Linked DNA regions of Homo sapiens: all the other regions are linked to region 1. The links are contacts of gene promoters, found by promoter capture Hi-C in human tissues and cell types (Jung and others, 2019). All regions are on one chromosome and are shown on one strand. Each heading gives the region's core, a stretch centred on a gene start or on the middle of the fragment in contact. The rest is flanking DNA. Distances are from core to core; before and after follow the strand shown.

Region 1 (7,297 bases), core at 3,537-6,036:
AAAATTTAATAAATTAGTCACTTTTGTTTCCCCATATTTTTACCCATTTTTACAGCAAGGTTTTCCTTTTAATTATTACAATCTGAGCCAATTCATAGTTAGGATTATGTTTTTAACTATCTTCTCCACAAAAATGGTTTTCTTTTATTTGATACTGTGGGATGTTGTGATTAGAATGTCAGCTGATAAACATAGCTAGAAACTATAGCAACAACTTATGGTGTCTGACCCACTTAAGCATGTGAGTCTTCAGCAGAATGAGGGAAAAGATACCCTAAAAGCAATGCAAATAATATGAATCAAAACCATCCTTTGCGAGGCTGGGCGAGGTGGCTCACACCTGTAATCCTAGCATTTTTCAAGGCCGAGATAGGAAGATCACTTGATGCCAGGAGTTCAAGACCAGCCTGGGCAATATAGTGGGACCCTGACTCCAAAAAATTTTAAAAATTTGTTGAGGTGGTGGCGCAAGCCTGTAGTTCCAACAACTCAGGAGGTGGGAGGATGGCTTGAAAGCAGGGAGTCGAGGCTGCAGTGAGCCGAGCTCACGCCACTGCACTCCAGCCTGGTGGGTGACAGAATGAAATCCTGTCTCAAAAAACAAAACAAACCAAAAAAAGTATTTTGCTTTTGTAAGCATATAGTTGGTAGGATTATTCTTACCTCTCTAGACTTAATATTTTATCTGCTATAAAACAAGTATTCCTTTTTTTTTTTTTTTTTTTTGCTGGAGTTTCGCTTTGTTGCCCAGGCTGGAGTGCAGTGGTGAGATCTCGGCTCACTGCAACCTCCGCCTCCCGGGTTCAAGCGATTCTCCTGCCTCAGCCTCCTGAGTAGCTGGGGTTACAGGCACCCACCACCACATCTGGCTAATTTTGTATTTTAGTAGCTACAAGATTTCACCATGTTGGCAGGGCTGGTCTTGAACTCCTGACCTCAGGTGATCTGCCTGCCTCAGCCTCCCAAAGTGCTGGGATTACAGGCATGAGCCACGGTGCCTGGCAAAAAACAAGCATTCTAATGAATACCAGCCCTCACTAATGGAAGTGGTATTTCTTGTATTTTTATGCCCCTCACTTCTTCCAAGGTTCTGATAAAAGAACTACAAATAATAGAGGGCTTTATTATGATATAAAAAAGTAATAATGCTTCCACATAAGGCACCATTTTAGAGAAAAGGTTTCCCATTTTGAATAGTGGAGGATGAAAACCAAGCATTCATTTCATTGGAATATATGATCTAAAATAATCGTAATAACCACATTATGTGGCTGGGTAGTTGGGGTTTTTTTGTTTGTTTTTTGAGACGGAATCTCACACTGTCGCCCGGGGCTGGAGTGCAATGGCGTGATCTCAGCTCACTGCTACCTCCACCTCCCAGGTTCAAGTGATTCTCCTGCCTCAGCCTCCCAAGTAGCTGGGATTACAGGTGCCCACCACCACACCTGGCTAATTTTTTGTATTTTTAGTAGACACGGGGTTTCATTATGTTGGCCAGGCTGATCTCAAACTCCTGACCTCGTGATCCATCCGGCTTGACCTCCCAAAGTGCTGGGATTACAGGCGTGAGCCACCGCCAAAATTTCTAAAATCTGGCCATTTTAATACTATTACAAATAAAACATATATAATATTGGCATTTTAATATATGTTTTAGAGCTAATAATGATGAAGATAGCAGTCACTTGGTATTATGTTCCAGGCATTCTACTAAATTCATTTGATCCTCATAGCAATTTCATGAGATTAGCACTATTATCTCCGTTTTACTGAAGAGGAAAAAGCACTATTATCCCCAGGTTACTGATGAAACCGGTGCTCAGAGAAGTGAAACAATTTGCCCAAAGTAGGAAGTGGCAAACCAGGAGTTAAACCTGGGTCTGTCCAATTCCAAAGCTTGTGTTCAAAATCTCTACACTATAGATAAAACAGATGAACAAAATATTTGCTCTATCTGAATGAACAGAATCATATTTTCAAAGAAAGTATTGGGACCCATAGTCTGATAAAAAGCTCTATTTTTAAAATTTATTTACATGAAATATTTCATAAAGGTATAAACATCAGCTAGACATTTAGCTGAACATTCAACAACTTTTTTTTTTACAGTCTAAACTTGGAAACATAACAGAAAATGGGGATATAACCTATATCTCTATCAATAGGTGAACACAATTAATCAAAGTGATCAGCCTTAGCCAGGTGCGGTGGCTGAAGCCTGTAATCCCAGCACTTTGGGAGGCTGAAGCAGGTGGATCATTTGAGGTCAGGAGTTCAAGACCAGCCTGGCCAACATGGTGAAACCCTGTCTCTACTAAAAATACAAAAATTAGCCGGGCGTGGTGGCGCACACTTGTAATCCCAGCTACTGGGGAGGCTGAGGCAGGAGAATTGCTTGAGCCTGGGAGGCAGAGGTTGCGGTCAGCCGAGATCACGCCACTGCACTCCAGTCTGGGTGACAGAGTGAGACCCTGTCTCAAAAAAAAAAAAAAAAACCAAAACAACAACAACAACAACAACAAAGTGATCAGCCTTAAAATTTGCCCTTAAAACCAATTTTAGACTGGGCATGGTGGCTCACGCCTGTAATCCCAGCACTTTGGGAGGCCAAGGCGGGTGGCTCACCTGAGGTCAGGCGTTCAAGACCATCCTGGCCAACATGGCGAAAATCTGTCTCTACTAAAGATACAAAACATTAGCTGGGCGTGGTGGCAGGCACCTGTAATCACAGCTACTCGGGAGGCTGACGCAGGAGAATCGCTTGAAACCGGAAGTTGGAGGAGGTTGGAATGACCTGAGATTGTGCCATTGCACTCCAGCCTGGGCAACAAAAGTGAGACTCCATCTCAAAAAAAAAAAAAAAAAAAAAAACTAATTTAATTACAGTGAAAAAGTCCTTAGTAGTTTGTGAATATATTTACCTCCTCTAGCTTTTTGCAAAATCTAGCTATTAAATTGCAGCTCTCAGATTGTAAAGGCAAAATGCCTAACATGTTGTCTGTTGATCAAATGAACCCAGCCTGGGCAACACAGTGAGACCGTCTCGTCTCAAAAAAAAAAAGAAAATACATAAAATGTTTGTGGGAGGTGATCTCTGTGTGTGTGTGTGTGTGTGTGTGTGTGTGTGTGTGTGTGTGTGTTCTTCACAATAGGACAAATTTATCTAGAAATGTAATGGTTCCCAGATGTTTATTTTTTTAAAAAGTCAAGATGTGGTGATAGCCAGGTATTTGTCTCTAAAGTGAGAATGATGTTATTCCACTTGGAGTTTATTGACACAGAACTTCCTTTTGTCTGAGAAATCTTCAGCACTGTGAATATGGCTTTAATTAAGAGATACACTCATCACTTGTTGATTTTGTTACAAGGGAAGAACTCCTCTAATGTATGTGGATTGCTTTGTGGACCACAGTAAAACATATAAAGGACCACCGGCAATGTATTGTTTTGTATCTACTGCATTCTTATATTCATTTCTGAAAACTACTGTTTAGAAAGTTCTGTAGGATTACTGAAGTACAAAAAGTATTTGGATTCACAATCCACTTTTTAAAGAGAGGCCACATTGTGGTTATTGACATTAAAAATGAATGTCCTAACCCATACTTGTGGGGCTAAATCTTTGAATATCATTTTAAAACATGAGGAAATGTCTTCTGAATTTAGGGAAGTCACACATAGATCCCAGTTCCTCTAATAACCTTTGGCAGTTTATTTGTTCATAGATTTGTGGCAAATTCTCTGGAATCATATGATCTAAAGTACAAATCATTGTCTCAAAATCTAAGGCATGATATGCACATGGGAATCTTTAAGTACTTGTCTGAGTCTATCTTCAAGTGATATCTGATAAGACCTAAATTACAGTAGTGTTGTGGGACGAAGAAAACAACCCACTCTACTTCAAAATCTTAACCACTTGACTCCACATCCATTGAACCATGTAATTCTTAGTTCTCCACTCAGCTTCTCTATCTGTTAAAAGAGATAAACAGATCTAAAACGCAGCTTCTGTAATTCAAGAATGAGTAATAAGGAGCTGTAAAGTGTGCACTCAGCTGACTTGGAGATTAATGGGAATAAAAAAAAGAGTCAGTAGATCTAAAAAGATGTGTGGAAAGGAAATTTCTCTGCACACAGGATCTGCCAATTTGTGAAAGTTCTCGACTGTTTATAAACACAAGGGCCGTAACTCTGCTAATGACAAAAGTGGAAAACTGTCCAAATAATGCTAAATGAATCACAGTTGTTCTCAATTATTTGGATATTTAATTCACTCCTCTGAGTTTCCAGTTTACACCAAGCCAACCCCCCCAACACCACGGGCCCACCCGGGGGGTCCTGATCCCTGCACACACCAGGTCATCTCTGTTGGGCCCCGGCGCTCTGGCCCGCGCCGGTCTTGGGCCCCAGGGTAGCGGCCACTGCGGGCGGAGCAGAGGGAAACACCAGAGTCTGTGACTCCAGACAGGACCCACTGTGTCCTCTTGAACTTTGCACAGCGCGTGACGGGGGCAGACGGTGCACCGTGGCCCGGCCTTTCGCGGGGGTCCTCGGGGAAGAGAGAGGAGCGCGGGTTTCCTCGGAGGCCTGAGCGGGACGCAGCCTGCAGCCCCTCCCCGCACGGGCTGCCCCCGGCCCGCCGCTCGCGCCGCTCTGCTGGGATCCGGCGCCTTCCCCGGCTGTCCTCGGCCTCCCGCGCGCTCCGCGGGAGGAGCCGCCAGCGGCCGTGACGCGTCAAGGAGGAAACGCCGGCGCCCGGCGGCCCTGCCGGGAAGGAGGAAGCGCAGTGCGTTCGGCTCCGCGCCCGCCGCGCCGGGAGCAGCACCGCGGGGCCAGGTAGGTGCGGGGCCGGCGGGAGGGTCCGCGCGCCCGGGACTCCGACGGCGGCCCGGGGCGGGAGGAGACGGGGCGGGGCGAGGGCTGCCCGGGCCTCGGCCGCTGCCTGTCCTCGGAAAAAGCCGTACCTCCGCCCAGCCCCCGGCTCCCGGAGAGTTTGTGGTCTTTGTTTCCACGAGGTGAATTCAGATCCTGCCTCGAGATTCCTAAACGCCCAAGGGGCGTCGGTGGCTGGACCTTGTTAACCCCCACGCAGCCGCCGAGCCTGGAGGAACTGGGAACGCCGAGCAGGGAGACCCTATCTGAGGTCGAAAGTGGGTGCAGGTCACCTGCGAGGGTCGGGGAGGGGGCAGCCGCCAGAGTGGGGTGGATGGAATCGTTTAACCTGTTGTCAGCGGATCTGTAGTAAAAGACCTTAATACGTTGCGTCTTTTAAGTTCTCTGTAATTTGAACCCTTACGTCTCTTCAAGTGAATCTGGCCCTATTAATTCTCACAGTTTTAGCTTTGGAATGTACCCACAAGAAGTGCTTTGAGATTTTTAGATTCTGTCATTTTTAGTCATCGTTACTTGGAAAGAGAAAAGAGAAAGGAATCATCTCTTGAAACTTAAAACGCTTTCATTGAGTTGTGCACAGTGACTTCTGAACCATGAGTAGAATTTCAGTCCTGCACCAGAGACTACTTAGTGTGCACTTGGGTGCAAAATAAATACAGAGCACTGTAATTTCTAAATCTTTTGTCAAAGTGAAAAATAGACTGTTGTGTATTTTGATTCTCTCCCTTCTCACCAGATTGAGACTTCACCCAGCCAATCTGGGAGGTGCCTTTTTTTATTTACCAAACACTTACATAGCCCTTACTATGCGCTGGGCTCTTTCTAAGTTCTTTATAAATATTAAATCAAATTCTTAACTTATCATATTATAGCGGTTCTAGCAATGAAGAGGCTATCCATACTTTAGTTCCCCAAATGTCATTGGAAGAGCTGTAAACATTAGAGGAAGTTTTAGGCATGTTTTAGCACCGGGTGTGCCTTCTGGTCCCCTTGGCTACCACTTCTGTAAGACAAGCCACCACCCCAGCATTTCCCTGGGGTAAGGGAGCCTGGAGCTCCTGGGAATGCGACCTGTTCAAAGCAGATGTTGGCCAGAACCTGAATGACTTGTGTAACATGGTCTCTTTCAACTGCCGTTGTGCCCATCGGCTAACTCTGGAGACACCAGAACTTCCCCTTCTTTAACTGCCACTGCATGGAGCCTACTTTTGTTTTTGAAAAGAGCTTTGTTCCTGATCTGTTCGACACTGTTTATATGACATTATTTATATGACATAGTTTAGATATGAGGGTCAGATTGAACTTGAAATGTACTATAAAATAGAACATTTTTGTTTGCACACATCAACATAACAAATAACGTTTTGTAATTTTACTGCTATTTGCTCTTGGAAACATTGAATTGGTAGGTCAGCCTCATAGGTGTACCTTTTGTGATTTGCAGATATGCAGAGAATATTTTTTCAGAATAACATGCCCTCTTCAAATGTGCACCATTAGAGACCCAATGTGGTGACTAAGATAGACATGATTCTTGTTATTGTGACTATGAATGTAATGTCAAAATCTGCACATCAGACTAGCTTTCTGACTCCCTCACTCCCTTTCTGTGCCCCCCTCCCTTATCTCTCTCTCATATATTTAACTTTTCAGAGAGATGATTAAGTGAGCCGATAAGCCTTATTTAATAGGATTATGAAGTGTCTCTTGAAGCAAGAAGGCTCATGTTCCTCTGATATATTAATAATTTATGACACAACAGGCATTAGTGTCATTTGTGAATTCAGTTTAGTCGGATGACCCCTAGCATTTTCATGGCTTACAAAGTGCTTCCAGACATACTCCTTTACCTTTCAGAGAGATCTTGTATGGTTGATCTCTTAATTACTTTTTATTACCTGTTTTTACAGATGAAGAAACTGAGGCATGGAAATGTTAAAGTGCTTTAGCCTGGATTGCACAGCAGGTGAGAGGCAGAGCTTGAATGGAGGGCAGGTGTGTGGACAGTGCCTGGCACGTGCAGGCCTGTAATAAACATCTGTGGAATGAATGACTCCAAATGGCTTCAGATATCTTGCTCTTTCAAAACATGTCTCTCAAAATACCGTAGTAATTGATTTATGCCTGAGAGATTTCCAGGCCTAATCCAATGCCTCTCTCATTTCAGACAGTATCTAATACAGCACATTTTCTACAAAAAGGATGGGAATCCCTTTGGACTTATTTCTTAAGATTTGCCACCTCTGGTTTTTGAAAAAGAAAATAGGTTGGGTATTTTTTTCATCCTACCTTTTTTCTCTAGTTTTGAGAGTTTAGAACGGACACATGGTATTTATGTTTATGTTGACAGCTTGCTTTCTTTCTTTCTTTCTTTGTTTTTTTTTTGAGACAGAGTCTTGCT
Region 2 (7,297 bases), core at 2,638-5,137, 230 kb after region 1:
TTCCTTCGAAGTATCATGTTTTACTTGCCTGCTTTTTCCTCAGTCTAGAGGTTTCTTTTCCTTTCTTTTTTTTTTTTTTTTTTTTTTTGAGACAAGTCTCACTCTGTCGCTAAGGCTAGAGTGCAGTGGCACCGTGTCAGCTCACTGCAACCTCCGTCTCCTGGGTTCAAGCAATTCTCCTGCCTCAGCCTCCTGAGTAGCTGGGATTACAGGCGCCCACCACCACGCCCAGCTAGTTTTTATATTTTTAGTAGAGACGGGATTTCACCATGTTGGCCAGGCTGGTCTCGAACTCCTGACCTCAGGTGATCCACCCACCTCGGCCTCCCAAAGTGCTGAGATTACAGGCGTGAGCCACTGTGCCCAGCCTAGAAGGTTCTTTTCATCCCTCTTTGCCTTCCTTGATCTCTTACAACTGAGTTAGTTGCCCCTGGCAGACACTTTTTGTTTTGTTTTGTTTTGTTTTGTGTTTAGAGATGGGTTCTCACTTTGTTGCCCAGGCTGGATTCAAACTCCTGGGCTCAACAGTTTGAGCCTCCTGTTTCAGCCTCTCTCACATTCGGTCCATAGCATCCAGAAATAGTGTTTAACCAGTGATCTGAGCGTCCCTTGGCCCAATCAATATGACGCAAAAAATTAACCATCATGTATGTCTAGCAAGGGCAGCATGCTTCTGGAGTCAGCCACTGTAAGGCAGCTTCCTGTTTGGCAAGCAGAGTTCAGATCATGGCAGAAGTATCAGCTACCTTGGCAGCCCAGTTCCATGGAATGGATTTAGAAATTGTTACTATAAATCCAGCCCAGGTTAGTTTCATCTCATGATTCTGTAAGTCACTAATAACCTATAAGCTTCCTTCCTCTCCTCTCCTCCCCTCCCCTCTCCTCTCCCTCTTTCTCTCTCTCTTTCTTTCTCTCCCTTTCTTTTCCCTCCCTCCCTCCCTCCCTTCCTTGCTTCCTTCCTTTCTTTCTCTCTCTCCTTTTCTTTTCTTTTTTCTTTTTTTTTTTTTTTTGAGACAGGGTCTTGCTCTGTCACCCAGGCTGGTGTGGTGGCTCAATCACAGCTCGCTCAGCCTCATCACCCTGGTAAGCCCCTTTCTTTTTAAACTAGCTAAAGCAGATACTGCAGCCAAACTCAAACTGATATACCTTCCTTACACATGGAGGTGACTTTATGACCCAGTTCTGGCCGATAAAAAATAAGTGGAAGCAGCCAGGCGCAGTGGCTCACGCCTGTAATCCCAGCACTTTGGGAGGTGGAGGCAGGTGGATCACAAGGTCAGGAGATCAAGACCATCCTGGCTAACATGGTGAAACCCTGTCTCTACTAAAAATACAAAAACTTAGCCAGGTGTGGTGGTGGGCACCTGTAGTCCCAGCTACTTGAGAGGCTGAGGCAGGAGAATGGTGTGAACCCGGGAGGCAGAGCTTGCAGTGAGCTGAGATCACCCACTGCACTCCAGCCTGGGCGACAGAGCGAGACTCTGTCGCCAAAAAAAAAAAAAAAAAAAGTAAGTGGAAGCTTTGATTACACTAAGCCACCTTACCAGTCCTGGACTGCCTACTTATGGATTTCTTTTCTTTGCTTTCTTTTTTTCCTTTTTCTTTTTTTTTGAGACAGAGTCTCACTCTGTCACCCAGGCTGGAGTGCAGTGGGCCATCTCAGCTCACTGCAATCTCTGCCTCCCTGGTTCAAGCGATTCTCCTGTCTCAGCCTCCCAAGTAGCTGGGACTATAGGCGCCCACCAAGCCCGGCTAATTTTTTTTTGTATTTTTAGTAGAGATGGAGTTTCACTGTGTTGGCCAGGCTGGTCTTGAACTCCTGACCTCGTGATCTGCCCGCCTCAGCCTCCCAAAGTGCTGGGATTACAGGCGTGAGACCCCAGCACCCGGCCTGGATTTCTTTTAGAGAATAAATTTTTAATTTACTAAAGCCACTATAGTTGGGTCTTTCTTATTAGCAGCTGAATGCAATTCCTAACTAATCTAGTAAGCAATGAACAATGCCTGCCGTAGCATTAAAAAAACATTTGTGGGCCAGGCATGGTGGCTCACGCCTGTAATCCCAGCACTTTGGGAGGACGAGGCGGGTGGATCACGAGGTCAGGAGATCGAGACCATCCTGGCTAACACGGTGAAACCCCGTCTCTACTAAAAATACAAAAAATTAGCCGGGCGTGGTGGCGGGCGCCTATAGTCCCAGCTACTCGGGAGGCTGAGGCAGGAGAATGGCGTGAACCCGGGAGGCAGAGCTTGCAGTGAGCCGAGATCGAGCCACTGCACTCCAGCCTGGGCGACAGAGTGAGACTCTATCTCAAAAAATAAATAAATAAAATAAAAAAATAAAAAAATTTGTGGACCAACTGATGATTGATGAACAAAGGCACTGAAGCGTGAAATAGCTGTGTGTGTGTGTGCACATGTGTTTACTAATAACTAAAATGTAAAATAGGAAGTGGTGGAGGGCAGTGACATAGGAAGAGGGTTCATAAATCAAGTTAAGGGGTTAGACTTCATCCTTAGATCATGGGATACCACTGAAGGGATTTGAGCAAGTATGTTATATCTTCAGGTTTGCATTTTTTGATAGGTTACTTGGGTGCAGCCAATACTGAAGGCTGGGGAAACTGTCAAGGCTACAAATTATAAGGTAAAAATGATGAATACCTGCAATAATTATTCTTACATACATTTACAAATGTAAGTATATCAATAGGGATTTTTGTTTGTTTTTTGTTTTTTGAGAGGGAGTCTTGCTCCACCGCCCAGGCTGGAGTGCAGTGCCTCAATCTTGGCTTACTGCAACCTCCGCCTCCCAGGTTCAAGCGATTCTCCTGCCTCAGCCTCTTGAGTAGCTGAAATTACAGGCACATGCCACCACGCCTGGCTAATTTTTGTGTTTTTAGTAGAGACGGGGTTTCACCATCTTGGCCAGGCTTGTTTCGAATTCCTGACCTCATGATCCACCCGCCTTGTTTCCCAAAGTTCTGGGATTACAGGTGTGAGCCACTGCACTCGGCCTGGTAGGGAAATTTTTTAACATGGCATTGCTAAGTCAGAGTGTGTATACTTATAATAGTGGGAGATACTGTCAAATTACATTTAAAAGAGGTTATGCTTCCAACAGTACAAAAGTCCTCATTTCCTCACCTTCACTAATGATGAGTATTTTTTGTATCATTGACAGGTGAAATATGTTCTTCCATTGCTTTCTAAATGTGTGTTTCTTAATTATGCCTGAACTTGTGTATCTTTTCATAAATATATTGGCTGGTTTCTTTTTTTTTTTTTTCCTGAAACAGATTCTCATTCTATTGCCCAGGCTGGAGCGCAGCGGGACAATCTCGGCTCACTGCAACCTCCACCTCGTGGGTTCAAGTGATTCTCCTGCCTCAGCCTGCTGAGTAGCTGGGATTACAGAAGCCTGCCACCATGCATGGCTAATTTTTGTATTATTAGTAGCGACGGGGTTTCACCATGTTGGCCAGGCTGGTCACGAACTCCTGACCTCAAGTGATCCGCCCACCTCAGCCTCCCAAAGTGCTGGGATTACAGGCGTGAGCCACCGTGCCCGGCCCTGTTTGGTTTCTTTCTATGAACTGCTGTTTGTTACCATTTGTGGAAGTTTCTCTTTTTTATTTTTTTTTGTGGGGGTAGGGGGACAGAGTCTCGCTCTGTTGCCTAGGCTGGAGTGCAGGGGCTCGGTCTTTGCTCCCATTTGTGCAAGTTTCCACTAAGTTGTTGGTGTTTTGCTTTTTTGAAATCTGAGAACTGATTTTATGTAAAGAGATTTACTGCTTTATCATGTGTTGTGATTTTTTTCCTCTGGCTTGTGTTTTGTCTTTTGACCTTGTCTTTTGTTTTGTGAATTTATTTTTATGTAGTCAAAATTAGCCATCTTTCCCTTTAAGGCAGCTTGCGGGTTTTTGTGTCACGCTTCACCTTACATGTTTAACTCTTCATCAAATGGAGCTAATGAGCCAGGGAAGACACACCTAGCTTGCACTGAGCTGCCTACATGCACTTTCTCAGCTATTATTTCATATCAACTTTGTGAGCTAAGGGGAAGAGGGCAAAAGGCAAGGGAAATGTATTGAGAACAAACCCTATACCAAGTGCTTACCACAGTGAGAGACCTGCAGCAAAGGACAGTGTTTTCCAACCAAACTAGGGGTGCAAACTCAAGTGCTTTAAGCATCCAGGCACTAACGGAGTAGGTAGTCTAGGACAGGAACCAGGCTCTCGGAGCCATACTGTCTGGGCCTGAATCTGGCCTCTGATTAGCTGGACAACGCTGGGCAAGTTTCTCAAGACTCTTTCCTAATCCATTTGCAAAGGTCCAGGAAGGTCCTCAGTACCAACACAGTCATTTTGGTGTGTTCTAAACTATAAGGTCAAATAAGTTGGAATACTGAGCAATTAGGTGTAAACTGTTGATGCAGATAGTCCATCTCTACTGTATAATTGGGTTAAAATGTCCATACCATGACTGGAATGTGAGGAAAATAACGTAGCTTTATGTCCTGTATCCAACCTCATCTTGTTCTAGAATCCTCACTCCTGAAGAGGAAAACTGCCAAACAGATCCCTTTTGATGTTAGTCTCTGTTCATTAAATATTCAGCCAAGTAAAAGTTGAAGCTCTATCAGTGCTGTTTACACTCAATGGGCTTCCTGCCTGTCCTTCTCCATTCATCCCTAGATGGCTTCAGGGAGCAGTTGTGAATCAAAAGGACATGGAGGGAGGGACTGCAGGCTCCCATGCTGTCTGTCCTCTGGGTCTAGACTGCACTCTGACATAGTGTGTCTGTCACTACCTGGTCCCTCAGGGTCATGCTGGCATCCACTGCTGAGATCCTGCATCCTGCTTACAATGTCCCCTTTTGGGGGCCCTGTACTCTGCGGCCTCCTGTGTCCTGGCATCCTGGCCTGAGTACTCTCAGCAGCTTGTGACCTGTGGCAGCCTGCGGTGTGGGGCTGCCCTCAGGACCCTCCCTCAGCCATTGCTCATCTTGCCTGCCCAGGGTGTGGCTCTGGGCAGAATCTAGGGCTTTGTTGGGCTTTGTCTAGAGAACTGTGGCAAGGTCAGCCCTTGTCTCCAATTTTTCACTACCCCACACTTCCCTATTTTTCTCAAGATGGACACCAGTGGAGGTTGACACCTCCACTACCTCTCAGTGCCTTGGCCTCCCTTCCCTGTTAGCACCTTTAGTAAAACTCCATTTATAGACCTCCAATCTTGGCGCTTATACATAGAGGGCAGCTTTTGGAACTTAAAATTCCATTTTCTCTCTTCATAAAGTCTGAAATTTAAGTCTATTATCTTGCTTGCTAGGGACTCTCAAAGTTATTTTTGCATTTTCTTTTTTTTTGAGACAGTTTTGCTCTCATCACCCAGGCTGGAGGGCAATGGTGCTATCTCCACTCACTGCAATCTCCACCTCCTGGGTTCAAGCGATTCTCCAGCCTCAGCTTCCCAAGTAGCTGGGATTATAGGCGCCTGCCACCACGCCCAGCTAATTTTTGTATTTCTAGTAGAGATGGGGTTTCACCATGTTGGCCAAGCTGGTTTCGAACTCCTGACCTCAGGAGATCCACCCACCGCGGCCTCCCAAAGTACTGGGATTACAGGCACGAACCACTGCGCCCAGTCTATTTTTGCATTTTCAAAGGCGTACAGAGGCGTACAGTGACTTCATTCTAGGAGGAATCTGCCCTTAACCAAGAGGGCCTTAAGTCAATGAGTTAGGGAGGCTGAGGGCCACAGATCAGTTTAGTAATGAAAAATATATTATCTCCTCCCTCCTCTAAACTGCTGCATGCCCTAAGGATATTTACTAATGTGAGAGTCCCTAACTCAGCTGGGTGCGGTGGCTCACGCCTGTAATTCCAGCACTTTGGGAGGTCGAAGTATGTGGATCACTTGAGGTCAGGAGTTTGAGACCAGCCTGGCCAACATGGTGAAACCCCGTCTCTACTAATAATACAAAAATTAGCCAGGTTTGGTGGTGCGAGCCTGTAATCCCAGTACTCAGGAGGCTGAGGCAGGAGAATCACTTTAACCTGGGAGGCAGAGGTTGCAGTGAGTCCAGATTGTGCCACTGCACTTCAGCCTGGGTGACAAGAGTAAAACTGTTTCTCAAAAAAAAAAAAAAAAAAAAAAAAAAAAAAGTCCCCAACTCATCGCCTATTAAGAAGTAGAAGCTAAGTCTTTTGGTACGATCTATTTCTTCTTCAACCTCTTCTTACCTCCCCTTTCCCCCTTCCTCAAGTTTGATTAAACCTCTATCTTGAAAAATAATGGGAGGCTGAGGCAGGAGAATGGCATGAACCCGGGAGGCAGAGCTTGCAGTGAGCCGAGATCGAGCCACTGCACTCCAGCCTGGGCAACAGAGCGAGACTCCGTTCTCAAAAAAAAAAAAAAAAGAAAGAAAAATAAGCTCTTACCTCCCACCACTGAACCATACTGTCCATTCCTGCAAGAAGCTCTATTTCCTGTCAACAAAGAAAAGGAATGTGCTAATGTAAGCAAAGTGTGTATCCCTAGAGTAGCCACAAGTCTGGGTGGGCTCACATAGGTTAGGGGAAGAGGAGAGACCAGTAGTCATTGCTTATGGCAAGTTTTCTGTCTTCTGTTAAGCCATCTCCACTACCACCATCACCCTAGACATTGTCCAGTGTCCAGTCTCTGGCACTGGCTGGCTGGAGAGGAAAACAAGACCACCTGGGCCCAGTCTTCATTACACCAGGTGTGGCTGCTCTCTGGATCTCTCAGACCGAGTGTGGCTCAGCACTGGCAGCTTTAGTTGTTCTGGTCTGGTTCTAAAGTCAGGTCTCCTCTTTGAGGCAGTCTCTCCTGTGTGTCCCTATAACCACACACTATAGCAGGACTGGACACTGGTGGAACTGGCCTCTTCTTTCTAAATGGGGGATCTGAAAATAGCTTCACACCTTTCCTCCTCTCTTGACTCGCCTGCCTCTGCCATTGCATACCATTATTTTTACTTGATTGTAGCCCATGTTTCAAGATGACTCTGGTACAGGGTCTTATGGCCGCAAGGTGGTACAGATGTTCTACACACAGAGTAGGGACACTCTTGCACAGGCCTACTTTTTAAAAATACAGCTTAATTAAAATTTTTTTTTTTTTTTTTCCTGAGACAGGGTCTTACTGTCTCCTAGGCTGGAGTGCAGTGCCACAATGATGGCTCACTGCAGCCTCCACCTCCTGGGCTCAAGCAATCCTCCTACTTTAATCTCCTGAGTAGCTGGGACCACAGGCACACGCCACCATGCCTGGC
Region 3 (7,297 bases), core at 3,484-5,983, 190 kb after region 1:
TGGTGCGTTCATGTAGTCCCAGCTACTTGGGAGGCTGAGGCAGGAGAATTGCTTGAACCCGGGAGGCAGAGGTTGCAGTGAGCTGAGATCATGCCACTGCACTCCAGCCTGGGCGACACAGTGAGACTCCGTCTCAAAAAAGAAAAAAAATATGGGTGTTGGTCAGGCGCGGTGGCTCATGCCTGTAATCCCAGCACTTTAGGAGGCTGAGGCAGGTGGGTGGCTTGAGCTCAGTTCAAGACCAGCCTCAGGGCTGGGTGCAGTGGGTCACACCTGTAATCCTAGCACTTTGGGAGGCTGAGGTGGGAGGATCACTTGAGCTCAAGAATTCAAGAACAGCCTGGGCAACATAGTGAGACCTCATCTGTATTTAAAACAAACAAACAAACAAACAGAGCAGCCTGGGCAACATGGTGAAATCCTGTCTCTACCAAAAATACAAAAAACTAGCTGGGCCTGGTGGCAGGTGCCTGTAGTCCCAGCTACTCAGGAAGCTGAGGTGGGAGGATTGCTTGAGCCCATCAAGCGGAAGTTGCAGAGCACCTAGATATGCCACTTTACTCCAGCCTGCGTGACAGAGTGAAACCCCCTTCTCAATTTAAAAAAAAAAAAGCCTGGCCTAGTGGCTCATGCCTATAATCCCAGCACTTTGGGAGGCCAAGGTGGGGCGATCACCTGAGGTCAGGAGTTTGAGCCCAGCCTGGCCAACATGGTGAAACCCTGTCTTTACCAAAAAAATACAAAAAAAATTAGCTTGGCGTTGTGGCACATGCCTGTAGTCCCAGCTACTCATGAGGCTGAGGCAGGAGAATCACTTGAACCCCAGAGGCGGAGGTTGCAGTGGGCCGAGATTGTGCCACTGCACTCCAGCCTGGCGACAGAGCAAGATTCTGTCTCAAAAAAAAAAAAAAAAAAAATATATATATATATATATATATATATATATACATATATCTTTTCATATGTAAACTGAGACTATGTGAGTTCAAATACAAAACATATTTTTACTATAGAGAAAAGAACATTATGAGAAAATAGAACTCTTAAAGCACGGTAGTGCACACCTGTAATCCCAGTACTTTGGGAGGCCAAGTTGGGTGGATCACCAGAGGTCAGGAGTTCACAACCAGCCTGACTAACGTGATGAAACCCTGTCTCTACTAAATACAAAATAATGAGCCAGGCATGGTGGCACATGCCTGTAATCTGAGCTACTTGGGAGGCTGTGACACAGGAGAATCACTTGTACCTGGGAGGCGGAGGTTGCAGTGAGCTGCAATTGGGCCATTGCACTCCAACCTGGGCAACAAGAGTGAAACTGTCTCAAAAAAAAAAAAAAGCAAACAGTGTAATTTGATCTGAGTATTTTAAATGTTACTTCAGGAAACAGAAAGCATTATGTAATTCTGTTTTCCATTTTGAAACATTTATCAAAGAGTTGACTTCTACTTGGCTTATCTTTAGCATTTTTTCAGCTCTATGAAGATAAATATACAGTTGGGGAAATTAACTAAACATGTCTAAATCTTACAGATTTATACTTGACATTTTCTGCCAGTTCTTCATCTGTCTTATTTTATATTGCAGTTGTAACAATATATTTATTTATTTATTTAATGAATTATTTTACTCCTGGTTCTACTTAACAATTATTTTGAGATTACACTTTAATACTATATCAAATAAAGAAATGGTCTATCAGTAGGGGACTGTTTAAACTATGGTACTGCTACATCACAACACAGTGAAGCTGTGATGCAGCTATTATTTCAAAAATAAAGTAGTTAATTTTAATATGATAACTCTACTTTTTCGCATTGTAGAAATAAATACTAAGGGTGGTTTGTGAAACAGCAGAGTAAATAAACCCCTAGCTAGAAGAGTCATAAACCTTGAATTTTTTTGCCATTTCTACAGACAGGTACCTAATCACAAGCATCTTTGCTTTTCTAGAGAAGTGGAGCTGAACAATACTTTCTAAAGGCTCTATACATATTCTGTCCCGGTCAACATTTTTAGAAGGATCTTGGATGAGGATATCAGAGACATGATAATTACATTTATAAATGAGCAATATTGGAGAGAACTTCACAAGCTTGAACTGTGATCTTAATCTAAAAGAAGAAAGTTAATAGGATAAATGTAAAGCCCTCTGTTAGATGCCCAGACTCCCTAGTATAAGTGTGAATTGATGAGAAAATGGTAATGTGGCTTAATATGAAAAGATATGAAAAGGATTTGATATTTCATTCTTTTTATGTTTAATAAGAGTAAATAATGTAATATGGCTATTAATAATACTGAGAGTTGGGGTCATATTAATAGAATATATATCAAGAGCAACAAAATGCTAGTTATGCCTTATCTCTAATGTGATGGTCAAAACTGCTGTCGTACTGCACTGAAAAGGAGTATTAACCAAATTAGGTCATGAGGAGAGTAGCCATCATGGTAAGGAGCTGAAAATTATGTCTCATAGCATAGTAAAGGAACTAGAAATATTTAACTTGGAGGAGAGAAAACACGGAGCAATCAAAAAGTTATCTTTGCATATCTGAAGAGCATCATATTAAGAGGTCTCAGAAGACAGAACAAGAGACCTGTGGGTAGAAATTGCAGTGAAACTAATTTTAGCTTAGATTGATAGAATCTTGGTTATAGTTAGTTATGGTTATAGTTAGTTGCAAAACTTTCAAATGCCTTTACTTATCTGCCTTTTACAGCTGAGTTTCAAAAAATCTCATACATTAAATGATTTATACAAAGTAATACAGCTAGTAAATTCTAGAGACTCAGCCTAGGTTTTCTGATTCCCAAGTTCAGCAGTCATTCAGATACATCACTTTTGCTTGAAGGAGATCTTTCAAGTAATGGAAGCTGGTTAAAAAATTAAAAATAAAGGAACGGATTGCCTCATGAAGCCATGAATGCTAGGAGAGGTCCAAAAGAGACTGGAAAATGAATAGCCCAGGATGTTGTAGAGGAAATTTAGTTTTCTGATGAAAGTTTGAACTTTGAATTCCAAGATCTCTTCCAATGCTGAAATTGCAAACAAAAATCTTGCAAATCTATGAGGATTTTAGATAAATGAAGGACTAAAAGAAAAAGTCAAGGATTTGTCTGTAAAAGATATTTAGTTAGATTAATTTTCCCAACTGTGTATTTATCTGAACAAAACTTCGGGAGGGGAGTGTGGAATGATAAATAAAAGCCAGGATGGAAACCAAAAGGATACTGGCTTGTTCTGGAACAGTCTATTTAAGTCGGTGGGGAAAAAAAATCCTTTGAAAAGAAACTAAAAATTTTTTTAAAGTAAGAATATGCTTTAGGTGTGGCTAAGGTTCATATATATCTCGATTTGTTCCTGCCAAAATATATATTATTTTTATAATATCAACATATTTTCTTTGGCAACTATTTTCTTTTTTAGCGTTTTCCTATCTGAAGCCCATGCACGACTGAACTTAAGGAACAAAGTGCTTAAAGAAGATGTGCTGATTGCAGCCTTACTATTTGAAACATCCCTCACATTGAAATATGGTAATGAATTAAATTATTAATGATCACTACAAATAACTTTTATTTAACCTTAAATATTCTTAGTTGGTTAAATTAAAATGTTACATATATTTTTAAAATATTATTTTAAAGAATAACAAATCTCTACCAGGTAAGGCCTGTTTTAATTTGGGCATTTATTAACTGTTTCTGGGTAGTATCATCATCTGATATTAAATTCCTTATTATGCATGATTGTTTTCATATTTGAACATTTGCATTGCTTAAAGAATTCTGGGGGAAAAAGTACTTACTACAACACATAAAATGATTTTAATTTATCTTCCTTTTAAAATAACTTGCAACATTTAGGTATCAAACAATCCCCCACAGTGGAGTTAGGCAACATAGCAAAAGAAAATCTGATCATCAGCTGGGTGTGGTGGCTCACACCTGTAATCCCAGCACCTTGGGAGGCCGAGACAGATGGATCACAAGGTCAGGAGATCAAGACCAGCCTGCCTAATATGGTGAAAACCCGTCTCTACTAAAAGTACAAAAATTAGCTAGGTGTGGTGGCAGGTGCCTGTAGTCCCAGCTACTCAGGAGGCTGAGGCAAGAGAATCGTTTGAAACTGGGAGGTGGAGGTTGCAGTGAGCTGAGATTGCACCACTGCACTCCAGTCTGGGTGACAGAGTGAGACTCCATCTCAAAAAAAAAAAAAAAGAAAGAAAGAAAAGAAAATCTGATTATCTTGTATCACCACCTTTGCTGAATTACTAGTTTTAATACTATGTCTATAGCATTTAATTTTTTGAAATGAATGGCACTTATTATGCTTTTGCTAATAAACACGCAAAAGAGGTTTTTAAGGTAAGGGTAAAGGAGAGTTATTCTCCCAAAGTTCTTGGTTGAATTAGATGAGACATTAATTTTGATTAGCGATACCATTCTTCAAACCAAACCTTGGTTCCAGCCCTGGGACTTAAAGAATGTATTAACACTAGCTTTCCTGTGTGTATGTGCTGGTGATTACATTTGCTTTAAATTACATTTATATTGTAATACCTGTTTGCAGAGATCCATTCGAATATTAGAACTTTGTTCTATTATTGTCTAAAGTTCTATAAATTGTTCTATAATTGTCTTTGTTCTATAAATGTCAAGCATTCTTAATCTAGGATCCATAGATGCTTGGTATAGGGGCTTGCAAATCCCTAAATAATATACAAATGTACACATGTGTGTGCCTTATACATTTTTTTCCGAGGAACATAGAGCATTAATTTTTATGAAATAGAGATTTATGGCCCCTAAAAGAGGTTAAATATCATCCTGAATTAGTTTTATTTACCAAAAGAGAATAACGCTGGTTCCCAACCAATACTAAATAATAGTTAGGGAGGATATATATATGTTTTTCATTTCAATTTGCTTTATCTTTTTTTAATTAGCATTTCTTTTTTAAATTATTATTTATTATTATTATTATTTTTTTTTGAGATGGAGTTTCACTCTTGTTGCCCAGGCTGGAGTGCAATGGCATGATCTCGGCTCACTGCAACCTCTGCCTCCCAGGTTCAAGCAACCTCAGCCTCTTGAGTAGCTAGGATTACAGGCATGCGCCACCACGCCCAGCTAATTTTGTATTTTTAATAGAGATGGGGTTTCTCCATGTTGGTCAGGCTGGTCTGGAATTCCCGACCTCAGGTGATCTGCCTGACTTGGCCTCCCAAAGTGCTGAGATTACAGGCGTGAGCCACCGTGTCCCACCTATTTTTTTTTTCTCTTTAAGTTCTGGGTTAAGTGTGCAGAACATGCAGGTTTGTTACATAAGTATACATGTGCCATGGCGGTTTGCTGCACCTATCAACCTGTCATCTAGGTTTTAAGCCCCGCATGGTATTTGTCCTAATGCTCTCCTTCCCCTTGCCCCCGCCAACCCCCAACAGGCCTCAGTGTGTGATGTTCCCCTCCCTGTGTCCGTGTGTTCTAATTGTTCAGCTCCCACTTATGAATGAGAATATGTGGTGTTTGGTTTTATGTTCCTGTGTTAGTTGGCTGAGAATGATGGTTTCCAGCTTCATCCATGTCCCTGCAAAGGACATGCACTCATTTTTTATGGCTGCATAGTATTCCATGGTGTATATGTGCCACATTTTCTTTATCCAGTCTATCATTGATGGGCATTTGGGTTGGTTCCAAGTCTTTGCTATTGTAAATAGTGCTGCAATAAACATACGTGTGCATGTGTCTTTATAGTAGAATGATTTAAAATCCTTTGGGTATATACCCAGTAATGGGATTGCTGGGTCAAATGGTATTTCTGGTTCTAGATCCTTGAGGAATCGCCACACTGTCTTTCACAATGTTTGAACTAATTTACAGTCCCACCGACGGTGTAAAAGCGTTCCTGTTTCTCCACGGCCTCACCAGCATCTGTTGTTTCCTGGCTTTTTAATGATCACCATTCTAACTGTTGTGAGATGATATCTCATTGTGGTTTTGATTTGCATTTCTCTAATGACTAGTGATGATGAGCTTTTTTTCATATGTTTGTTGGCTGCATAAATGTCTTTTTTTTGAGAAGGGTCTGTTCATATCTTTTGTCCACTTTTTGATGGGGTTTTTTTTCTTGTAAATGTGTTTAAGTTCCTTGTAGATTCTGGATATTAGACCTTTGTCAGATGGAGAGATTGCAAAAATTTTCTCCGGTTCTGTAGGTTGCCTGTTCACTCTGATGATAGTTTCTTTTGCTGTGCAGAAGCTCTTTAGCTTAATTAGATCCCATTTGTCAATTTTGGCTTTTGTTGCAATTGCTTTTGGTGTTTTAGTCATGAAGTCTTTGCCCATGCCTGTGTCCTAAATGGTGTTGCCTAGGTTTTCTTCTAGGGTTTTTATGCTTTTAGGTTTTACATTTAAGCCTTTAATGCATCTTGAGTTAATTTTTGTATAAGGTGTAAGGAAGGGGTCCAGTTTCTGTTTTCTGTGTATGGCTAGCCAGTTTTCCCACTACCATTTGCTAAATAGGGAATCCTTTCCCCATTGCTTGTTTTTTGTCAGGTTTATTGAAGATTATCAATTTGCTTTATCTTTACATGCTTCTCCTAGTCTATGTTTAAGACCACATTTCATTAAGTCTAAGACACATTATTTTATGTGCTGTAAAGAAAAAATTCTGCCAATTTTACCATGCCATGCCATCAATTGTTAAGATACAACTGGAGTACGGTAATAAGATGAAAATATATGTCTTTGAATTGAAGAATTATAGTATTATTATATTAAGGACTCCTGTGATAGAATATGGTTGAGTTTTTTGTTTTGTTTTGTTTTTGAGACAGTCTCACTCCATCACCCAGGCTGGAGTGCAGTGGCACAATCTTGGCTCACTGCAACCTCCATCTCCTGGGTTCAAGTGATTCTCCTGCTTCAGCCTCCTGAGTAGCTGGAATTACAAGCATGCACCACCACACCCAGTTAATTTTTGTATTTTTAGTAGAGATGGGGTGTTGCCATGTTAGCCAGGCTGGTCTCAAACTGTCAAGACCTCAAGTGATCCACCTTCCTTGGCCTCCCAAAGTGCTGAGATTGCAGGTGTGAGCTACCACGCCCAGCCATATGGCTGAATATATTTACTTAGTGACTGACACAGTTAGGCTTTTTGTCCCCACCCAAATCTCATCTTGAATTGAAATCCCCATAATCCCCAAATGTCAAAGGAGAGACCAGGTGGAGGTAACTGAATCATGGGGGCAGTTTCCCCTATGCTATTCTCATGATAGTGAGTGAGTTCTCA
Region 4 (7,297 bases), core at 3,524-6,023, 140 kb after region 1:
TTGCCTTCTATTTTGTAAGGAAAATAGAACCATTAGAGTGGAGCTAACTTAGCTTCCTGCTATCAAATCCACAGACCTATATACACTTGCAGGATCCTGTCATTTTCTTCTTCGTATTGTAGTGGAAAAGGTCTGTTTCCACCTGTGCACTGTATCCTGTCCATTTGTAAGGAACCCTGTCCATGTTTGTTTGTTTTGCACAAATAACTGCTCCCCTTTTTTTCTGGTTCCTTCCAGTCAGTAATTAAATGTTATCAAATCTGTTGCTTCTTAAGCCAAAAAAACCCTCAGTCTTACTCTCCTGAGAGGTACTACTCTATCTCCTTCCCTTCTTAGCCAAACTTGTTGGAAGTTTTCTTTGTTCAGTCTCCCTTTCCCAAGCTCTTTCATTTCTCAATCTACCACAAAATAGCCAGTAGAATTGCTGGATACTACTTTTCCTCAACTTATGCCGCCCTCAGCAGCATTTAAACTTGCAACACTCTCCTGTTCCCTAGCCTTCTGCAAGAGCACACGTGCGTCTCATCTCAGGCTTTTCTTTCTGTATTTCTGGACCGTTCTCCATTATTTCCTGTGTAAGCTCCTTTTCAAACTTCAAGTGTTGCAGTGCCCTGTCGTCCTAAACCCTCTTTTCTTCCGTGCTGTCTTCCTGGGCAATCTCAATTGGTCCCATGGCTTTAGTTATCTATATGTTTTCATCTCACACATTTATATCTTCTGTACTCTTCAGCCCTCTCTTCTAAACTCTAGACTTACATAGTATCTGCCTGCTCAACATCACCACTTGGAGTTCCTGAGAGTACCTCAGATGCCGCTATTGTCCCCCTGTGCTCCCTTTTGTATTAAAGGACATCACTGTCCATGTGGCTATTCTGGCCAGAAATCTGAGAGGCATTCTTGATTCTTCTCTCTTCCTTACTTCCATATTCAACAAACAGCCAGTTCCTTTTTGCTGCCTGAATCTTTCCCATATCCAGACATTTCTAGCCCCACTGCTACTACTCTTGTCCTACTCTTTGTCATCTTTAGTCTGGTTACAGTGGTTGCTATTTTTCCCTTATCTGGTCTTGACTCTTCAATCTAATTCTCCCTGTAGCCAGGGTGATGTTTTGGGGGAATATTTTTTTTTTTTTTTTTTTTGAGACAGGGTTTTGCTCTGTCACCGATGCTGGAGTGCAGTGGTGTGATCACGGCTCACTGCAGCCTCAACTTCCCAGGTTCAAGTGATCCTCCCACCTCAGCCCCCAAATAGCTGGATTACAGGCATGTGCCACCACACTGTTTTGTAGAGATGGGAGTCTCATCATATTGCCCAGGTTGGGTTTGAACTCCTGGGTTCAAGTGATCCTCCCACTTCGGACTCCCAAAGTGCTGGGATTATAGGTGTAAGCCACTGCGCCTGGCCCAGGGTGGTGGTTTAAAAAACATTTCTCACCAACCTGATGCTTTAAAAAACAAACAAATAGAAAAACCAGTTGTGACATTCTCATAACTAAATCCCCTTGATGGCTTCTTATGACCCTAGAGCAAAATCCAAAATGTTTCATGTAGACCTGATATGATACAGCCAGTTTAGCTCTTGAGCTTCACCTTATGTGACAGTCCCATCCCTCCCTACACTGCAGCCATATTGGACTCTCATTTTCTTGACCATACTAACCTCTTTGCCACCTCAGAGCCTTTCTGGAACATGCTCTCCCCATTCTTTTGTCTGGCTTAATTCTTACTCATTTTTCAGACCTCTGGTGAGATACCACTTTCTCTAAGAAGTCTTTTTTAACCCACCAAATTAGGTTGGATCCTACTTTATACACTCCTGTGGCACCTTGAAGGAAAAATAGCTAGAGTCAATACTGTGCCATTGTTTGGTAATACCAACCCTGAGTGGGATATTTTTTTATTAGTAGAACTCATGACTGATTTTATTTCTACTCCACTGTATAAAGCTCTCTGCCCAACTTCTTTACCCACCTACTCCAGTAATAACACTAATTCTTTGTAACTCTGTAGTGCTTTATTCTTTTCATAGCACTTTACATCCATACTTTACACTGATCCTTAAAACATACTTCCCCTGAAGTATTAAGGGCAGAAAGGTTATCCCCATTTTACCACTGAGGAAACTGACTGTGAAGAGAATACAACTTAAGTTTAAGTAGGTCATTCTAAGTAACTTTCTTTCAGTCTTTCTATTGCTTACATGAATAACATCATTTTGCCACACAAATAACATACACATGTTCCTAAAAAGAGTTATTGAGGGGCAAAATAGTAATAGTTTGGCTTCATAAAATTATGCAGTTAGTACTTAATATATTCTTCGGCATTAGTAAAACAAATTTTTTTTAATATTCCAGCTTGAAATTCAGAATCATCCTTTTTTTGAATCACTCAGCTGGGCTGACCTTGTACAAAAGAAGATTCCACCACCATTTAATCCTAATGTGGTAAGTATATATCCAAATCTTTCTTTCTAGAATCGTGAAACTTAATAGCAGTTCATTGTAAGTTTGAAACTAGATCTCAGAATCACCTGAATTAAATGGAGTCATTACCTAAATATTTGTGAAATATGTCACTCAGGGTTGTCTAGTATAACTAATAACTTCAGGGAGACCAGTAAGATTATAGTTAGATTAGGTTGATAAAAATGTCTTCCAGCACAGTAATTGTAAAGTGTTTCTTTGGAGCATGTATAAGAAAAGAATGAACTCAACAAGTCAGCCAGGCATGGTGGCTCACACCTGTAATCCCAGCACTTTAGGAGGCTGAGGTGGGCAGATCACTCCCAGCACTTTGGGAGGCCGAGGTGGGTGGATCACTTGAGGCCAGGAGTTCAAAACCAGCCTGGCCAACATGGCGAAACCCTGTCTCTACTAAAAATACAAAAAAAAATTATCCGGGTGTGGTGATGCATGCCTTTACACTCCCAAACTACTAGGGAGGCTGAAGCATGAGAAACACTTGAACTCAGGAGGTGGAGATTGCAGTGAGTCGAAATTGCACCACTGCACTCCAGCCTGGGTGATAGAGCGAGACCCTGTCTCAAAATAAAATTAAAAAAAAAAAAACAGGTATAGACAAACATTATTAATAAAATCATATTAATGTAAATTGTTACTTTCTTGGGAAAACAATAGGATAGTATTATAAAAATGTTCATGTTAGCTAGACTTGTTAAATCTACTTGATGGAAACATTTCACCTAAAGATAATTTGTTTAAAGCAAAAAGCCATATTAAAGATGAGCTTTATACTATTAACAGTGTTAGAAAATTTTGGAAAATACAGTAAATACATAACAACAGGGAAATTGTTAATAATCATCAGTAGGCCAGTAATGATGTTAGTCACTAATGATAGCTTCCTTTGTATAGGGATATACACTTTGTATGTGTTATAATATATAATTTACTCTTAAGCTACCAGCTTACTACTATTACTGTTTTTCTTATTACACATTTTATAAATGAGGAAATAGAAGCTCAGAGATGTCTCATAGCTGGATAGTAGAGCCAGGATTCCAATATATGCGTGATTCCAGAGTCATTATTCTGTTTCCTTATGCTCTGTTGTCTTTTCTTGTTAAATTATATAAAAATGAGCAAGCACTTAGAAAATCCTTATAAAGTTACATGAAAACATGGTAATTACAATTTTTGTGACTTATAATTATAGCAGTAAAAATAAGGATAAGGACTAGAATAGAATATAAGCCAAGACTGATTTGGAGTTTTAAGATCATAGGTGAATTTATTTTCTTTTTTTAAGTTTTTTGATGTTGCTGCAAAACTTAAGGAATCCTTTTTTTTTTTTTTTTTTTTTTTGAGACAGAGTCTTGCTCTGTCGCCAGTCTGGAGTGCAGTGGCGCGATCTTGGCTCACTACAACCTCCGCCTCCCTGGTTCAGGAGATTCTCCTACCTCAGCCTCCCAAGTAGCTGGGACTACAGGCATGCGCCACCACGCCCAGCTAATTTTTGTATTTTTAGTAGAGATGGGGTTTCACCATGTTGGCCAGATGGTGTCGATCTTTTGACCTCATGATCCACCCGCCTCAGCCTCCCAGAGTGCTGGGATTACACGCATGAGCTACTGTGCCCGGCCAGGAATACTTTTTTAATAAATTAGAGCAGATAAGGAGATCAGGAAAGTATTATTTAATAGTCTATCAGGCTTTGTTCCAGGTTAATTTCTATACATAGCTCATAGCTGGTATTAATTAATAGGTGTAATATTTTACACCTACATACATAATATTTGTAGACTGACTGACTTCATGTAGTGCATCCAGGAATGACTCCATTAGGAATAATTTCGGTCCCAAATTTCTAGAGTTTGTGGTAGGAAACTAAGACTCTTAAGAATTATTTTATTTTTCTCTTTAGACTAAGTATCTTAGCAGAATTTAATTACATTCAAATAAATATATCATCAAGCATGTTGAAGAATGTTGAAGGGACTCCTAAGCAACACTGGAAATGGAAACAGTATTGACTTCAGACTCAGATAGCTCCAGCATTGGATCCCTGCTCTTCTATGATTAACTAGAAGTTAAGCTTCTCTATACTTTTTTTTCTTTCACAACATGAGCTTTGAGGTTTAATTTAGGTAACATTTGTAAAGCACCTCAGTGCATTGCACACAGTAGATATTTAATTAATAATACCTTTTTTTAATTCTTTTCCCTCTGGGAATGTTTTCATTAAATATTTATTGGTAACTTAGAAAACACAAGTAGAACATGGGCTCTGTCTTCAAGAAAATTACAGTTAAGGGGATAAAATATATAAAGAGAAGAGTTAAATAATTCTATGTTTAGTGCATATTAGGCATTCAGTGTTGTGGAATTAAAATATGTAATGTGAGGCAAAAAAGCAGATGCCTCATAATAACTTATGATTGCATCTGTGGGAAAAACAGTTGACAGAAATAGTCTTTGATGCTTACTCTTTCAGTGAATAAAATGAATTAGTTGATTTTCCAATCGGTTAGTGTTTTATATTTTAATAGGGTAGTTACTAGGGAAAGGGAGAGTGGGGTTATTGACCATGCTAAGCTTCAGTATTTCTATGATGAATGTTTCTAGCAGTTACTGAGAATTATTTCAAAATCTAACAGGTTGCATAAAGTATTTACTTCAATTATATGTGTCCAACTAGTCTACATTAAAAAAGGACTGGAAGCAGTTTATTTCTCTGTTTACAATGGGTAAAATGCATTCTGGATTCTCTTTTTTTAGCCCACAGAATTGAGGTTATACTGCTAAATATTTAATTTATCCTAATAAGAATTGGTTGCTTAATTTTATTCTCTCAGCAGCTGATAGAGAAAGGATAATAGCAGTGACCTAAAATGGGCTAATACAAACCATGAATGGGTACATTATTATATTTTAATCTTTTTTTGCTATAAAACTTATCAACAAGTAGTTTTTGATACTTTAAAAGATTTCTCATTATACCATTTCGGAACAACCAACACAAAACAAGTGCCTCCAAAATAAGCCGTATTTAGGTAGGATTTCATTGAAGCTCCATCTGAAATCCTGTAAGTTACTATGAAGCATATCCTAACATTCCATTCTATGTTGGGTACACCCAGGTTTTGATCCTTGCCTCCACTTTAATCCTCAGAAAAACTTACTTTGTTGCTGCTTTCATTTTGGCATCTCTTAGAATACAACTTGCTAAGGGTTTTGACTCCCTTTTTGAAATATTGACTATTCTGCATAGCTAATAGTTTACAGTTCTGTGGCCTCAGTCCCTACTTTAGGAATTTCTGTTTATTACATATAAAATTTTGGAAAAGTATGAAAACAAAAATTGACTGCTTGGTGGGAGAGGGCTCACCAACATTTCAAATTAGAGGTTCCCCCCAAATAATCCTTAAAGTAAAAGTATAGCATAGAAAATAATCCCTAAATTAAAAGTATGGCATAGTCCTGCCCTGAAGGGGGTAGATGTGGTATTGAGCTGTGATAGGAGTGGCTTGGCCATGCTCCAAGTGGGTCATTCAGAAGCCACATCTGAGAGGTGGGTCTGGACCTGGGGGGAGGCTGGCATCATTCTAACAATTCTGTAAGCTGAAAGAAAATATTCATTTCTGGGTCAATGAATCACTCTTATTAATGGTTGTTAAAATTAGTTAAGTGTTAAGGGATTGGGTGTGGTAGGAAGGGATTACTATGAAAATACAGGGGTCCAGAAAGGACAGATTGGAGTGAGGGTGCATATTAGTACCAGGACATATTTATGTTATACATTTCCAAGTGGAGGGGAGAAAAAAGGAATTAACTTCTAGTGCGTGCCCACTGTGTACCCAGCATTGTGTTAGGTCCTTGATATGCATTGCCTTGGTTCCCAAACCCTCTGAAGAATTAAAACCTAGGTATGGGCTGAACACAGTGGCTCATACCTGTAATCCCAGTACTTTGGGAGGCTGAGGCAGGTGGATTTTTTGAGCCCAGGAGTTCAAGACCAGCCTGGGCAACATGGCAAGACCCTGTCTCTAACAACAACAACAACAACAAAAAGTGAAAATTAGCTGGGTGTGGTGGCACGCACCTGTGGTCACACCTATTCCAGGAACCTAAAAGTAACCCTTGCAAGACCTAAGATAATGTTTTTGTGTATAATCTTTAAGTGAAGAATGCTTTTTAAAGCATGACCCAGAAGCCATAAGAGAAAAAAGTTGGTAGATTTGACTACATAAAATTTCATTTCATTTCATTTATTGATTGATTGATTGAGACAGAGTCTTGTTCTGTCGCCAAGGCTGGAGTATAGTGGTGCAATCTCGGCTCACTGAAACCTCCGCCTCCCGGGTTCAAGCTGTTCTCCTGCCTCAGCCTCCCAAGTAGCTGGGACTACAGGTGTGCACCACCATGCCCAGCTAATTTTTGTATTTTTAGTAGAGATGGGGTTTCACCATGTTGGCCAGGCTGATCTTGAACTCCTGACCTTAGGCAATCCGCCTATCTGGGCCTCCCAAAGTGCTGGGATTACAGGCATGAGCCACCGCACCCAACCGACTACATAAGATTTTAGTATATGTGCTGCCGAAGTGAGCACTGACCACATAAAATTTAGAAATATCTGCATAAAAATTACTATAAGCAAATAACAAACTGGGAAAATTTTCCTTAACACCTAAAGCATTCTTACTAGTCAATGGGAAGAAACACCAACAACCAATAGAAACATAGACAAAAGACAGAAAACATGAAGTTACAGAAAAAGAAATACAAATAGCTTTCAATTATATGAAAAGAAGTTCATACTGACGGTTGAAGAAGTG

The links. Contacts are between HindIII fragments. The study calls those that stand out against the background at their distance.
Region 2: a fragment that was not itself captured here is called in contact with the fragment with the promoter of SGK3 in region 1 in 2 of the 25 tissues and cell types used here (lymphoblastoid cells and spleen).
Region 3: a fragment that was not itself captured here is called in contact with the fragment with the promoter of SGK3 in region 1 in 1 of the 25 tissues and cell types used here (hippocampus).
Region 4: a contact is called between a fragment that was not itself captured here and the fragment with the promoter of SGK3 in region 1, in 1 of the 25 tissues and cell types used here (dorsolateral prefrontal cortex).

Annotation. Positions count from the first base shown.
Region 1 is chr8:66,707,995-66,715,291 of GRCh38, forward strand. SGK3 (serum/glucocorticoid regulated kinase family member 3) reads left to right here and starts at 4,787. Exons shown (of 17, transcript NM_001033578.3): 1 at 4,787-4,839. The region is part of intron 3 of C8orf44-SGK3 (C8orf44-SGK3 readthrough); the gene reads left to right. RefSeq lists a silencer at 4,496-4,965. The HindIII fragment of the contact is 13,282 bases long and covers 477-7,297 here.
Region 2 is chr8:66,936,233-66,943,529 of GRCh38, forward strand. No RefSeq gene overlaps it. Among named protein-coding and RNA genes, the nearest start is that of SNHG6, 14 kb to the left of the region's middle. RefSeq lists an enhancer at 4,464-4,965. The HindIII fragment of the contact is 8,975 bases long and covers 1-7,297 here.
Region 3 is chr8:66,901,796-66,909,092 of GRCh38, forward strand. It overlaps MCMDC2 (minichromosome maintenance domain containing 2), which reads left to right. Exons shown (of 15, transcript NM_173518.5): 14 at 3,431-3,540. Among named protein-coding and RNA genes, the nearest start is that of SNORD87, 17 kb to the right of the region's middle. The HindIII fragment of the contact is 7,995 bases long and covers 737-7,297 here.
Region 4 is chr8:66,848,474-66,855,770 of GRCh38, forward strand. C8orf44-SGK3 (C8orf44-SGK3 readthrough) reads left to right here. Exons shown (of 19, transcript NM_001204173.2): 18 at 2,358-2,447. It overlaps SGK3 (serum/glucocorticoid regulated kinase family member 3), which reads left to right. Exons shown (of 17, transcript NM_001033578.3): 16 at 2,358-2,447. Among named protein-coding and RNA genes, the nearest start is that of MCMDC2, 19 kb to the right of the region's middle. The HindIII fragment of the contact is 5,715 bases long and covers 1,917-7,297 here.